Linked DNA regions of Homo sapiens: all the other regions are linked to region 1. Evidence: promoter capture Hi-C in human tissues and cell types (Jung and others, 2019). All regions are on one chromosome and are shown on one strand. The core of a region is centred on a gene start or on the middle of the fragment in contact, and the rest is flanking DNA. Distances in the headings are between cores, read along the strand shown. Region 1 holds the start of FOLR1 (folate receptor alpha). Region 2 overlaps CLPB (ClpB family mitochondrial disaggregase). Region 3 holds the start of IL18BP (interleukin 18 binding protein). Region 4 overlaps NUMA1 (nuclear mitotic apparatus protein 1). Region 5 holds the start of CLPB (ClpB family mitochondrial disaggregase).

Evidence for each region. The method cuts DNA at HindIII sites, captures the fragments that hold promoters and counts their contacts. A contact is called where the count stands out against the background at its distance.
Region 2: a contact is called between a fragment that was not itself captured here and the fragment with the promoter of FOLR1 in region 1, in 1 of the 25 tissues and cell types used here (spleen).
Region 3: the fragment with the promoter of IL18BP here is called in contact with the fragment with the promoter of FOLR1 in region 1 in 1 of the 25 tissues and cell types used here (mesendoderm cells).
Region 4: a contact is called between a fragment that was not itself captured here and the fragment with the promoter of FOLR1 in region 1, in 1 of the 25 tissues and cell types used here (H1 embryonic stem cells).
Region 5: a contact is called between the fragment with the promoter of CLPB here and the fragment with the promoter of FOLR1 in region 1, in 5 of the 25 tissues and cell types used here (IMR-90 fibroblasts, aorta, lymphoblastoid cells and 2 more).

What each region holds. Positions count from the first base shown.
Region 1 is chr11:72,190,766-72,193,626 of GRCh38, forward strand. FOLR1 (folate receptor alpha) reads left to right here and starts at 1,375. Exons shown (of 4, transcript NM_016729.3): 1 at 1,375-1,576. The coding sequence starts at 1,409. All of the region lies in intron 2 of FOLR1-AS1 (FOLR1 antisense RNA 1), which reads right to left. The HindIII fragment of the contact is 9,856 bases long and covers 1-1,759 here.
Region 2 is chr11:72,405,149-72,407,883 of GRCh38, forward strand. The region is part of intron 2 of CLPB (ClpB family mitochondrial disaggregase); the gene reads right to left. Among named protein-coding and RNA genes, the nearest start is that of CLPB, 28 kb to the right of the region's middle. The HindIII fragment of the contact is 5,962 bases long and covers 1-2,735 here.
Region 3 is chr11:71,997,539-72,000,341 of GRCh38, forward strand. It overlaps IL18BP (interleukin 18 binding protein), which reads left to right and starts at 1,371. Exons shown (of 6, transcript NM_001039660.2): 1 at 1,371-1,481; 2 at 2,389-2,474. The coding sequence starts at 2,447. It overlaps RNF121 (ring finger protein 121), which reads left to right. Exons shown (of 9, transcript NM_018320.5): 9 at 1-59. The HindIII fragment of the contact is 6,503 bases long and covers 1-2,041 here.
Region 4 is chr11:72,029,362-72,032,195 of GRCh38, forward strand. The region is part of intron 3 of NUMA1 (nuclear mitotic apparatus protein 1); the gene reads right to left. Among named protein-coding and RNA genes, the nearest start is that of NUMA1-AS1, 16 kb to the left of the region's middle. The HindIII fragment of the contact is 4,468 bases long and covers 1-2,834 here.
Region 5 is chr11:72,433,033-72,435,803 of GRCh38, forward strand. It overlaps CLPB (ClpB family mitochondrial disaggregase), which reads right to left and starts at 1,499. Exons shown (of 16, transcript NM_001258392.3): 1 at 1,040-1,499. The coding sequence starts at 1,442. RefSeq lists enhancers at 1,121-1,580, 1,644-2,450. The HindIII fragment of the contact is 14,936 bases long and covers 1-2,771 here.

The DNA.
Region 1 (2,861 bases), core at 125-2,624:
AGAGCTGCTGGGTGGGAATTCAATTCCAGGCTTATATGAGCCCTGCTGTGCAGTCGGCCTGGAGACAGCCCAGCTCAGGCCCTGCCTAGACCCCTGTCAAGGAGGCCCTGTCAAGAGGAGAGGAGGGGCAGCACGGGGGCAAGGCAAGCTTGTGAGCGGGAAAGGCATGTCCACTTTAGCGACTGGTATGTGGAAGATGAGTTAGAGGAGACAGATGGAGAGAAGTCATAGGAAATAAATTCTGAGCATTTTAGGAGGGCCCAGACACCTGGTGTCCAGTGGAGTGAAGGAAACAGTCGCCTCCCAAAATTCAGTGTCTGAGGTCAAAGGATTGAAGTTCTGTGATGACCAAGGAGAAGCCAGCTCTGTGGTAGGGGGCACAGGAGCTCCCCAAGGCCCCAGGGCTGTCCAGCTGGCTGTCCCCTGCCAGCACCCATGTCCTGTGACCCCACCCCACCAAGATCCCATGGTTTCCGGGAAGGGCCTACTAAACTAGCTTGAGTGATGAGGCTAGAAAGGGGCTGGGACCAAGGTTTAAAAAGCAAAACAAACTAACAAAAACCACACTGCAGCCCCCCCAACTAAAACATTTTTATAAACTTTTTTTTTTTTTTTGAGATGGAGTCTCGCTCTGTCACCCAGGCTAGAGTGCAATGGCACAATCTTGGCTCACTGTAACCTCCACCTCCTGGATTCAAGTGATTCTCCTGCCTCAGCCTCCCACGTAGCTGGGACTACAGGCACACGACACCGCACCCAGCTCATTTTGTATTTTTAGTAGAGACAGGGTTTCACTATGTTGGCCAGGCTGGTCTCAAACTTCTGACCTCAGGTGATCCACCCACCTCAGCCTTCCAAAGTGCTGGGATTACAGGCATGAGCCACCGCGCCCAGCCCATTTTTGTAAACTTTTACAATGAAGTAATTTGGTGTCAAAATCTGACCTGAAAATTAATGTGAGTTTATGTATAGTTTTAATTTATCCCACTAGTGTAACTGTTTCACCCCAGAATATACACTTGATTATTGGGTATATGAAAATTATATTTTCTTTGAATCACCTTTGATGAAATCCTAAAAAATTTTAACCCTGAAACATTTGAATAAGGCATTGTGGACCTATGGCAAACTCCTGGCTATTTCTGCATTTTGCCCAAATCCATCCTTGAATTATATCACCTGAACCTCGTGACCACCTGGAGAAGGCAATGAGGCTCAAGCCAGGGAGGGGTGGTGTCTAATCCTACCTTTCATTGGATCTGGGAAAACTGAGGGAGATGGGGGCAGGGCTCTATCTGCCCCAGGCTTCCGTCCAGGCCCCACCCTCCTGGAGCCCTGCACACAACTTAAGGCCCCACCTCCGCATTCCTTGGTGCCACTGACCACAGCTCTTTCTTCAGGGACAGACATGGCTCAGCGGATGACAACACAGCTGCTGCTCCTTCTAGTGTGGGTGGCTGTAGTAGGGGAGGCTCAGACAAGGATTGCATGGGCCAGGACTGAGCTTCTCAATGTCTGCATGAACGCCAAGCACCACAAGGAAAAGCCAGGCCCCGAGGACAAGTTGCATGAGCAGGTGGGCCAGGGGGTGATCTGGGGTGGTGAGGGACTGGCTCAGGAAGAGGAAACGAGGACATGGAAATGCCAAACCCCATTCACTGGTGAACTGAAGTGGAGGAGCCCTTCAGTTTGCATTAATATGGGTGACTATTTCACAGACACTGTGCCAAATGTCGGTACAATGCCAACAGTTCACCTTCTTGGTTGTTGAGTTTCCGCATTACAGAAATAAGGAAGCAGGCCCAAAGGAGAGCCTGGGAAATGAAGTTGGAGTGACCCATCCTGGGGTTGCTTGATTTAGGGATTTAGACTGGGAATGACTCCTCCAAAGATCTGAGGGAAGAAACTGCACACTGTGCATAGTGGCCTCTTTTCTGCCAGCCCTAAACAGCTCAAGAAGGGAGAGTCTCTCACATTATGAGGCTGTGTGCAAAGCATTCTTTTTTTTTTTTCCTGAGACAAAGTCTCCATATGTTGCCCAGGCTGGTCTCAAATTCCTGGACTCAAGTGATCCTCCCACCTCAGCCTCCCAAAGTGTGGGATTACAGAAATGAGCCGTACGCCCTCCTGAAGCATCTTGGTTCATGCATCTCGCAAAACTTTGGGCTGTGTCTCTCGACCACATTGGACCTGAGGTCTCCCTATAACATTTATTTTGCTACCACCCCTTTAATATCCTGAACATGATGATATAACTAAAGAAAAAGCAGAGGAAAAGTAATTTGTAGGCCAGGTGTTACGGCTCACGCCTGTAATCCCAACACTGTGGGATGTCGAGATGGGCAGATCACTTGAGCTCAGGAGTTCGAGACCAGCCTGGGCAAGATGGCAAAACCCCATCTCTACTAAAAAATAAAAAAAATTAGTCAGGTGTGGTGGCACATGCCTGCAGTCCCAGCTACTCAGGAGGCTGAGGTGGGCAGGTCAGTTGAGCCCAGGAGGCAGAGATTGTAGATCGTGCCACTGCACTCCAGCCTGGGCAACAGAGTGAGACCTTGTCAAAAGAAAGAAAGAACGAAAAAAAGAAAGAAAGGAAGGAAGGAAGGGGAGGAAGGAAAGGGAGGGAGGAAAGGGAGGGAGGAAAGGGAGGGAGGCAAGGGAGAGAAACTTGTAATACGCATTTCTTTTTTTTTTTCTTGAGATAGAGTTTTGCTCTTGTTGCCCAGGGTGGAGTGCAGTGGCACAATCTCAGCTCACTGCAACCTCCACCTCCCAGGTTCAAGTGATTCTCCTGCCTCAGCCTCCTGAGTAGGCACACGCCACCACACCCAGCTAATTTTTTGTTTGTTTGTTTGTTTTGT
Region 2 (2,735 bases), core at 51-2,550, 210 kb after region 1:
AGGGGAAGAGTTTAGAGAAGTGGAAGGAAGTGCACGTCAATCAAGGCAAGAAACAGGGTATGACTGCGAAGCAGGAAAGGAACATTCAGAGATCATTAGGCAGCTCCATCTGGGTGACAGTTCACAGCAGAGAAACAGACAGCTGCTGAGGCATGCACAGCCAACACAAGACCTCGAATGTCAGACTAGGAGGCTAAGGCAGTGGGCATAAACCTTTCTGAGATATGGGCTCTTTTGTGACTACGATCAAATTTCTTCCAGAAAAGTGCATAGGAGCATACACTCTCAAAAACATTTTTTTTACATATAATGATCAGGTGTTCGCAGCCCCCATGAAATCAGTAATGGACCCTAGGATAAAAGCTCAGTCTAAAGGTTTGACAGATTCCTGGCATGCATGCTACTGTCCTGTGCTCCCACGTCTAAGAGGGATATCACACATCTCTCCCAGCAGTTCTTGCTGTGGAGCCTTTGAAAGAGCCTCAGAATCCTCTTCAAGGCCGGGCACGGTGGCTCACATCTGTAATCCCAGCACTTTAGGAGGCCAAGGCAGGTGGATCACGAGGTCAGGAGATCGAGACCATCCTGGCTAACACGGTGAAACCGCATCTCTACTAAAAATACAAAAAATTAGCCGGGCGTGGTGGCAGGCACGTGTAGTCCCAGCTACTCAAGAGACTGAGGCAGGAGAATGGTGTGAACCTGGGAGGCGGAGCTTGCAGTGAGCTGAGATCACACCACTGCACGCCAGCCCGGGCGACAGAGTGAGACTCTGTCTCAAAAAAAAAAAAAGAATCCTCTTCAAAATAGGTTCCAATCAGCCACCATCAATCCACTGAAGTTAGCAACAGAGAGAAAACCTAGTTGCCATTCCTTAGCTTCCCACCAAAGGCAGTGAGGTTGTCCATTCAAGGTTTTGGGACAAAAGAAATTATAAAATTAACCTAATCACTAAGCAGGCTGAATTTGAAGGGCGAAGAGTACAAAATGGGGATAAGAAGACCAGTTTGGAGGTGTAATACAGACCTTGGGAGAGGAGCTTGGGCAGGAAAATGAGAAAGGAGGGTGCAGCTAGGATAAACTCAGAGTGACCAAAATCCCTCATGCCTCCAAGGGAACAATGACCCATGTTCCCCTGCCTGGACCCTGAAAATTGTGGAAGCAGCGTTGCTCTAGAGGTAGGGCTGAAGAAAGAAGATTGAAATGCCTCCTCCTACTGCCCCTGAAGGGCCGAGTGCAGTCTAATAAAAAGAAATGGATGAATAAAGGGCATTGGAGTAAGTCAGACCCCGATTTGAATTCTGATCTAGCTAGATAACTCTAAGCAAATCAACACTAATTTTCAGTCTTCTGACCTCTGGGATAATAATCTCTAAGTTGCAAGATCCCAGCCTTGGCATATAGCAGGTATTCAATACAGACCCTACTATCCTATCTCACTTCCATCATTTTGATGGAACAAAGTGTTGCACTCTCAAGCTGGTAGTGGCAGGTTGGCTAATACCCAGGGATTCTAAGATGTGATCACACAGGATGACCTGGATAATTCAGCAAAGCTGGCTCTAGGCACTTTGTTCATTCATTCAGCAAACATGTGCACACACCCACTCTGTGCCCAGCCTCTTGCTGGCTACTGGGGAGGAGACAGAGAGAGAGGTTCTTGCTTTCCAAGACCTGAGCCAGGCAAGATCTATCTCTTCTTTTCCTTCCCTCCTTCCTTCTTTTATAAATACATATACATGGGTGTGTGTAGGTACGTGTGTGTGTGTATGTGTATAAAATTCTGCTTACAACTTTTTTCACAGAAAATTCTGTTTTAAGTATACTCATATTGCTAAGTATGCAATAACTCCATTGTTTTTAACTGTTGCATAACTCCCCACGGTGTGTGTCCACATTTTCTTTCTCTGCTCTCCCAGGCATACCCGCCCAGGGAGCCTCTATCTCCCAGCCACCAAAAACAATGCTCACAGAACATCCTCTCCTATGTCCCCTTTTGGACCTATGTGAGCATTTCCCTGTGGCATGTACTTGGAGTGAAATCACTGGGTCCTACAGTATGTGCATAGTTGATTTGACTAAATAGTGCCAAGGTCCTCTTCTGAATAGCTGCCCCACTGACCCTTCCACAAGCAGGACAGAGGTGTGCCTGTGTATCCCTCTTCCTGTCAACACTTGGCCATAGCCAGCTTTCTAATCACTGCCAGTCTAATGGGTGGGTGTAAAGGGCTATTATATTATTGTTTTATCTTGCATGTCTCTGATGACTAACAATTTTGAGCTATTTGTTATACGCATGTTTGCATTTCGGGATTTTCTCTTCTGTATATTGCAGGGTTTTCTATTTTAAGAGGAAGAACTCCTGGAAGAGGCATTTCTCTAAACCTGCTATCATAGAACTCCTGGAAGAGGCACTTCTCTAAACCTGCTATCATTTCAATGAAAGAACATACAGGAGAGTCAGGAGACCTGGGTTCTAGCTCTAGCTCTGCCACCTACTATTTTTTTTTTTTTTTGAGATGGAGTCTCGTTCTGTCGCCCAGGCTGGAGTGCAGTGGCACGATCTCGGCTCACTGCAAGCTCCGCCTCCCGAGTTCACGCCATTCTCCTGCCTCAGCCTCCCAAGTAGCTGGGCCTACAGGTGCCTGCCACCACGCCCAGCTAATTTTTTGTATTTTTTAGCAGAGACGGGGTTTCACCGTATTAGCCAGGATGGTCTTGATCTCCTGACCTTG
Region 3 (2,803 bases), core at 121-2,620, 190 kb before region 1:
AGCAGGATGTTGTCACTCCCGTCTGAATAAAGCTCCATGAGCTGGGTTGGAAAGCTGAACATTTATCTTGCTTTCTTCTTCCCACCTCTTTCCCTGGGGTCCCCAGGGGTGTCTTGCCTTTGTTAACCCCCATCGGAGACCTGAGGGTCTGGGGGTGGTTGGGCCTGCCTTTCTGCTGTTCCCAGCTGTTCCCCTGCTGACATCCCTAGGAGTGGTGGAATGCCAGGCTCCTGTCCTGTGGCCTGGGGGCCTGGGGCATCATTGGGCCTGCCTTCAGACTGAGGTTGCTCTATGTTCTCACTGCCTGAGGACAGTGTCCCGCCACCACCTGCCTTCCTGAGGACCACACTCAGGCTCGGCTTCTCTTCCCCAGCTGTGGCTTCCCATGGTACCCTGCTGCTTATGCCACCTGTGGGGCTGTTCCCCTCCTCAGAGAGGGGAATGGGGCTGGTCAGAGGACCTAGGGATCACCCTTCCTTTTACTTTTTCCCCCCACCCCCCTGTCAGGCTCAGGTGAGAAGCCGAGGCCAGGCTGTCCAAAGCTCTTTTCATGTGTAACAGTTCTGAGTCCCTTGACCTCCCCCCTTGGCCTGACTCTGGTCTCGGTTCCACTAAGACAGAGTCCTGTCATCTTTCCCTACCATCCCCCACTGGACTGTCTCTCTCAGAAACCCCAGGCAGCCTTGCCTCCTGACCTAACTCCTGGAGATGCTGGTGTTCTTGGGAGGAATTTCTCCTGCATCTTACATGCTAGAAGCCCCTGGGGCAGGAGGTAGGGGGAGGAATTGAGAGGAGGAAAAACATGAACTAGACACCTAGAGAAGAAGGATGTGACTTGTAGTATCCTATGTCTAAATTAGGAATATGAATCTGGTTTTTCTACAAGAAGTTTGAGATCACAGCTGACTGTGTTCCTGATGCATCCACCAAACCCAGTTCCATCTGTGGGCCTCCCTGGCTCTGTCACCAGCCGTTGCACCCTCCCAATCACAGGAGTCACAAACCTCAGACATGCAGCTCCTGTCCACACTTAATATATGCATGCATTGGATCACCCAGCCCTGGTCTTTCTGCCTCCATGGATAACTGCATGACCCTGAGAGAAAACCTCCTTAGATTTAGCATCCTAGGTTCCTCACACGCCTCACCCTGAATCCTGGCCCTCCCGCAGCCCCAGCGCCATTTGTCCCATCAGTGACAAGATTCATATTCTGATGTAGACTCTGTTGCCAGAGCCAGTGTTGAGCCAGTCCGCCTCTTCCCCGGGAAGTGCCTGCCCTTCCCTCCTGTTAGGGTTGGCTCTCGAGCTTGTGTGCCAGTTCCTGGGTTGGCCGTGAGAGTTCTACAGACAAGGAGGAAGTGCTCTCGGTGTATTTCCTGTGGTGGGTTCACACGCAGCTAGACACAGCTAACTTGAGTCTTGGAGCTCCTAGAGGGAAGCTTCTGGAAAGGAAGGCTCTTCAGGACCTCTTAGGAGCCAGGTAGGAGTCTGGGACTACTAGTGAACCTAGACCTGTGGCTCTGGCCAGAGGGGCTAGGATGAGAGACAGAGGGTGTGATGGTGGGTGCTGGGAGATGTAGCCGACCTTGGGGCTGGTGGCTGGGGGAGTGGGTAGCCTGGGAAAGGCCAGGATGTGGACGGACTGGTATGGCATTGAGCCTGAAGTGGTCCAACTTGGGGTTCCCCAGTGCCTAGGAAAGTTGTCCCCTTGAATGTCAGTGTGAAGGTGAAGGAGGAAGCAGATGCCTGTTCATATGGAAACAAAGACCTGGCTGTGAAGAGGGGAGGCGGACACCAAAGTCCTGACACTTGGGCGGGACAGAATTGATCTGTGAGAGACTCATCTAGTTCATACCCTAGGTGACCCTGGGGGTGGCATGGGGGTAGATTAGAGATCCCAGTCTGGTATCCTCTGGAGAGTAGGAGTCCCAGGAGCTGAAGGTTTCTGGCCACTGAACTTTGGCTAAAGCAGAGGTGTCACAGCTGCTCAAGATTCCCTGGTTAAAAAGTGAAAGTGAAATAGAGGGTCGGGGCAGTGCTTTCCCAGAAGGATTGCTCGGCATCCTGCCCTTCCCAGAAGCAGCTCTGGTGCTGAAGAGAGCACTGCCTCCCTGTGTGACTGGGTGAGTCCATATTCTCTCTTTGGGTCTCAATTTTGCCTTCCCTAATGAAGGGGTAAGATTGGACTAGGTAAGCATCTTACAACCATTTGTGGTCATGAGAGCTGGGGTGGGGAAGGATTGTCACTTGACCCCCCCAGCTCTGTTTCTAAGTGCTGAAAGAGCTCCAGGCTATGCTACGGGAGGAGAAGCCAGCTACTGAGGAAAAGCCAGCTACTGAGAAAAAGCGGGAGTGGTTTACCATTCTCCTCCCCCACCTTTCACCAGAGAAGAGGACGTTGTCACAGATAAAGAGCCAGGCTCACCAGCTCCTGACGCATGCATCATGACCATGAGACACAACTGGACACCAGGTAGGCCTTGGGGCTACGCATGGGCAGGCGGGGTAGGGTGAGGTCTATGAACAGAATGGAGCAATGGGCTAACCCGGAGCCTTCACTCCAAGGCAAACCACCCAGCGCACCTGGTGCTGTTGCTTTAAGAACCTGGGCAGATATTGTAGCTCTGGCTCCAGTCTAAAGCTTCTCTGTACTCTGTTCAATAAAGGGCTAAGGGGTGGGTGCTGAGGGGTCCCTCTTCCCGCTCTGATTCCCTGGCTAGAACCCAGACATCTCTGGGCTGGAGTTACATCCTTACCCGGGCAGCCCACTCTGTCTCCAGAGCCGCTGACCTGTAACTGTCC
Region 4 (2,834 bases), core at 76-2,575, 160 kb before region 1:
AATGTGAGTGCTTACAGTTGTAGACTATAGGAATACAAGAACTGATGATTCTCAGGTTTTTAATTTCAGGAAGGAGTGCCGTTGCACTCACTCATCCAGTTACAGCCACCTGAAATGCAACCATCAGAGAGCCCTTCCTTTGGCTTCAACTAAATAAAAGCTTAAACTTTCCTAAGATGTTCCAGCACTGGGAGTATTTTGGAAGGATACACCAATAAATTGGTACTACCACTGCTTCTAAAGAGAGGAACTTGACAGCAGGGAGTCTGAGGTGGGAAAAGAAAGGCTCTTACATTATAACTCTCTGTAGCTCTTGAATGTATTATAGCTCTTTGTATTTCTTGAACGTTTACATTATAAGTTTCTGTATCCCTTGGATTTTTATATTATAGTCCTTTGTGGCTCTTGAGTTTTGAAATATCTATTCAAAACTTAAATATTACATATATGCTATACACTCCCACAAACATATAAAATCTTATTAATACATTTTATATTATAGCCCTTTGTGGCTCTTGAGTTTTGAAATATCTATTCAAAACTTAAATATTACATATATGCTATACACTCCCACAAAGATATAAAATCTTATTAATACATTTTTATTCTTTCCACACATAAAGCTTTGGCTGAGGGGAGAAGGGAAAAACAATAGGGGAACAAGATGATTTTTTAAAAAGGGGGTGGAGGGAGCCAAGCGCGGTGGCTCACACCTGTAATCCTAGCACTTTGGGAGGCTGAGGCGGGAAGATCACTTGAGCTCAGGAGTTCAAGACCAACCTGGGCAACATGGTGAAACCCTGTCCTACAAAAAATACAAAAAATTAGCCAGGAGTGGTGGCACATACCTGTAGTCCCAGCTACTTAGAAGGCTGAGGTGGGAGGATCACCTTAGCCCAGGGAGGTCGAGGCTGCAGTGAGCTGGGATTGCATCACTGTACTCTAGCCTGAGTGACAGAGCAAGACCCTGTCTCCAAAGGAAAAAAAAAAAGAAAAGAAAAGAAAAAAAAAGGGGGCGGTGGGGGATGAAAGAATAGGAGCTGGGAATTTCAAAGAAAAACTTCTTAATTCTAATTTAGTTGCCTGTTCCCATTCTTTGGCTTCAGATAGGCATACATTTAAATCAGTTTTTACCACTAGAATATTCACCAGGGGTCACACACATCAGGTACACAGGTTATTCAATAAGTATACATGGTCAACCTCTACAGGAAAACCTCATGAATTCCACAGGCACTACAGTTCAGAAGTAGCCTGGGCTGAAGTTTACGTTTTTATTACTATAGGAAGAAAGGGTTTGCTAAGTTAATTATTCACATATTCAACACTAAGAGGGGAGAGAGACTGAGCCTGCTTTAAGAAACAAGGTATTTTAAAGAACTTCAGCATAGTGGTTATGTGCAGACAACTAGATTCTATTGCTTACAAATGTGTTCTCTATATTTGGGCTGGGAGCCAGTACATACACACTTTGGGCCCAGCTCCTCCACAAACTTGCCAGCAACCTTTGTTACAAACTTTATTTCTCTCTGCACTAGTTTCCTCCCTTGCCAAATGGATGGAATCCCTACTTTATCTACTTCAAAGGACCAGTGTGAGCTCAAATGGGATTATGGATGCAAGAACACATTAAAAAATATAAAGTAGGCCAGGTGCAGTGGCTCACACCTGTAATCCCAGCACTTTGGGAGGCTGAGGTAGGGGGACTGCTTGAGGCTGGGAGTTTAGGACCACCCTGGGCAACATAACAATACCTTGTCTCTACTAAATAAATAAATAAGCAAGCAAGCAAGCTGGACATGGTGACATGTGCCTGTAAGTCCTACCTACATAAGAGGCTGAGGTAGGTGGATCATTTGAGCCCAGGAGCTGGAGAAGTTACAATGAGCTATGATAGTGTCCCTGCACTGTGGCCTGGGCAACAGAGACATCTCAAAAAAAAAAAGAAAAAAGAAAAACTAATAAACATAAAGCACTATTATGGTTAATAAAATTAAAATAATGAAGTAGACATAACATTTGTATTTCTTAATAGTTAAGTTAGCTGCATGCACTATAGAATTAAGAGGATTTTTAAAAATCAATGATTTCTCTACAGACATGATAGTATTTATTTGAGTTAAACACTTTCACATTTAAAAACAACTTTTAGGCCAGGCGCAGTGGCCCATGCCTGTAATCCCAGCACTTGGGGAGGCTGAGGTGGAAGGACTGCTTGAGGCCAGGAGTTCAAGACCAGCCTGGGCAACATAAGGAGACCCTGGCTCTACAAAATAATAATTTAAAAAAATTTTTAGCTGGGTGAGGTGGCTTGCGCCTGTATGCTCGCGTAGTCCCTGCTACTCGGGAGGCTGACGTGGGAAGATCGCTTGAGCCTGGGAGGTCAAGGCTACAGCGAGCTATGATCACACCACTGCACTCTAGCCTGGCCAACGGATTGAGACCCTGTCTCAAAAAAATAAATAAATAAATAAATACAACATTTAGGCTAGGTGTGGTGGCTCATGCCTGTAATCCCAGTGCTTTGGGAGGACGAGGAGGGAGAATCGCTTGAGGCCAGGAGTTTGAGATCAGCCTAGGCAACATAGCAAGACCCTTTCCCCAAAAAATTAAAAAAAAAAAAAAAAAGAGAGAGAAAGGAAAAATAGCCCAGCATGGTGGTGCATGCCTGTGGTCCTAGCTACTCAGGAGGCTAAGGTGGGAGGCAGAGGATTGCTTGAGTGCAGGAGTTCCAGGCTGCTGTGAGCTATGAAGCTGCAACTGCATTCCAGCCTGGGTCACAGAGCAAGACCCTATCTCAAAAAGCGGAATCTTTTAGATGAATCCCAGTTAAA
Region 5 (2,771 bases), core at 249-2,748, 240 kb after region 1:
GGATCCAAATGAGATGCTAATCGGGATCAGCCAGTCCCCCAGCAGTTGCCCTTGGGCCTCCAGGAATCCACCTTCCTTCTCCTGCCAACTATCCCACATGGCAAGATCACCTCACAGCATGTGAGACCAGACACAGCAAAATCCTGAGACTGACAGACTCAGGCCGCTGAACTCCAAAAAGAGTCAAAATAACAGTACTGTAAAAATGTTGGGAAACTATCCTTCACTATATAAATAAAGAAATTGGTCAGACGCGGTGGCTCACGCCTGTAATCCCAGTACTTTGGGAGGCCAAGGCGGGTGGATCAGGAGGTCAAGAGATCGAGACCATCCTGACCAACAACTAAAAATACAAAAATTAGCTGGGTGTGGTGGCCCGCACCTGTAGTCCCAGCTACTTGGGAGGCTAAGGCAGGAGAATAGCTTGAACCCGGGAGGCGGAGGTTGCAGTGGGCCGAGATTGCGCCACTGCACTCCAGCTTGGCGACAGAGCAAGACTCCATCTCAGAAATAAATAAATAAATAAATAAATAAATAAATAAATAAATAAATAAATAAATTGAGGTCAAGCTGGCATTAGAACCGAGTCAGGTTGTTCCTGACTCTGGCACCTTTGGTGGCGGGGGGTAGGGGGGAGCGGTTTGGCAACTTCTCTAAACCATCTGGCGGTTGCCCTTAAAACACCCCATAATTTCCGTTTCCTGGAGATCTCAGGAAAGAGGAATTGGACCAGGCAGAATATGAGAAACATAAGGGGACCATGCTATAATATTAGATGTTTAGTCCAATATCCCCATTGTACAGATGGATAAAATGATGCCCAGAGAGGGGAAGCGGATCTATGGTACGAGATTATACAACTCCGAGGTGATGAGGTCTCTAGGGCAACACCCTGCCCCTGTAACCAGATGATGTCTGAGTCCCTCCAAGACTTAGGCTCTAAGGATCTAAACCTATAAGTACCTCCCACCCTCCTAAGATACGAAGTTAGGACAATCTTCCCGCCTCTCCCTTCCTCAAACCCAGATCTCATAATCACCCTTGTTGGACGGACTCTTGCTGTAGCAATGAACCACCAGCGCTGCGGCCAGGGCGCACATGCCCAGTCCGGCCCTGCTGGGGACCCCGTTCCAGCTGTCCTGTCCTGGGAGTGTTTCTTCGGGACCAGGAAGGCGTCCCCAAGTGGCAGCCGCGAGGCATTTGGTATCGAAGCGTCCTCCCTGGCGCCCCCCGGTGGCTGCCCCACGTCCGGAGAACAAGGCCGGCGATGTTCCAGGGCGCCCCCCGGTGGCTACCCTCAGCCACTGCGGCTCCCCGAGACTCCCAGTAGTCACATTCCGGCCGGAAGCACCTCCATGGCCCCGGAGCGTTGGGGACCTGAGCAGCCGGAGGAGTAGCCGTGGCGCCAGTGCTTTTCTCCTCAACACCAGGGACCCCAGCATCTTGACAGCTGCTTCGATAACCCCGTGGTGCCGGCCCCTGTGCTGACCACGTCCAACATGGCTGCCGCGGCGCGTTCGAAGACGCCGCGAACAGGGTGGAGTTGCGCACTACCTCACGGGAGAGGTAGTCCACAGCCCTAAGCCTTTCCCCAGCTGGAGAATAAATAAACTACGTTTCCCAGAAGGCTGTGGGATTGCGTCACAATGACTGCGGGATTATAGAAGCCCGGGGCATATTGGGAAATAGAGTTCGGGTGAAGGGGCGTGGCGATTAGAGTTAAAGATTAGAATCCCAAGACTTCTTTCCTAGTTTAGTTGAAGCACACGACACACTTTTTTTTTTTTTTTTTTTTTGAGACGGAGTCTCGCTCTGTCTCACAGGCCGGAGTGCCGTGGCGCGATCTCGGCTCACTGCAACCTTCGTCTCCTGTGTTCAAGCAATTCTCCTACCTCAGTCTCCCGAGTAGCTGGGATTACAGGCGCCCGCCACCATGCCCAGCTAATTTTTGTATTTTTAGTGGAAACGGGGTTTCACCACGTTGGCCAGGCTGGTCTCTAACTCCTGACCTCAGGCGATCCGCCCGCCTCGGCCTCCCAAAATGCTGGGGTTACAAGCGTGAGCCACCGCGCCCGGCCCACAATTTTTGACTGGTGTAAATTACCCAAGAATCTTCAGCAGAGGCATATTATGAAACTTATGCTTATTTAGTTTAGCCTATCTCTTTTTTCAGCCTGGGCGGCCTTTCAAAAAGATGTTTAGGGTAACTACTGCACCTGAGATAGGAATACATTTTATTTGAAGAGTTGACTTCCGGTCTTTTTTTTTTTTTTTTTTTTGAGACAGAATCTCACTCTGCCGCCCAAACTGGAGTGCAGTGGCGCCATCTCGGCTCACTGCAACCTCCGTCTCCCTGGTCCAAGCGATTCTCCCACCTCAGCCTACCGAGTAGCTGGGATTACAGGCACGCACCACCACGCTTGGCTAATTTTTGTATTTTTAGTAGTAGAGACGGGGTTTCACCATGTTGGCCAGGCTGGTCTCCAACTCCTGACCTCAAGCGACCCACCTGCCTCAGCCTCCCTAAGTACTGGGATTACTGGCGTGAGCCACTGCGCCTGGCCCTGATTGTGTTATTTTTAAAGGGCTTTCAAGTGGGTCATCTCATCTGATCCTCATGGCAGCTGTGTGTGAGAAGCTGGGCAAGAACTGTTATTCCCGTCTACAGTGAAGGGAATTGAGGCTCAAAGGTGAAAAGATTTGCCAGTAAATCACCTGGAGTAAAGTAATGCTCAGGTCTTCTGATTTTGAGCATATAGTTTCCATTAACA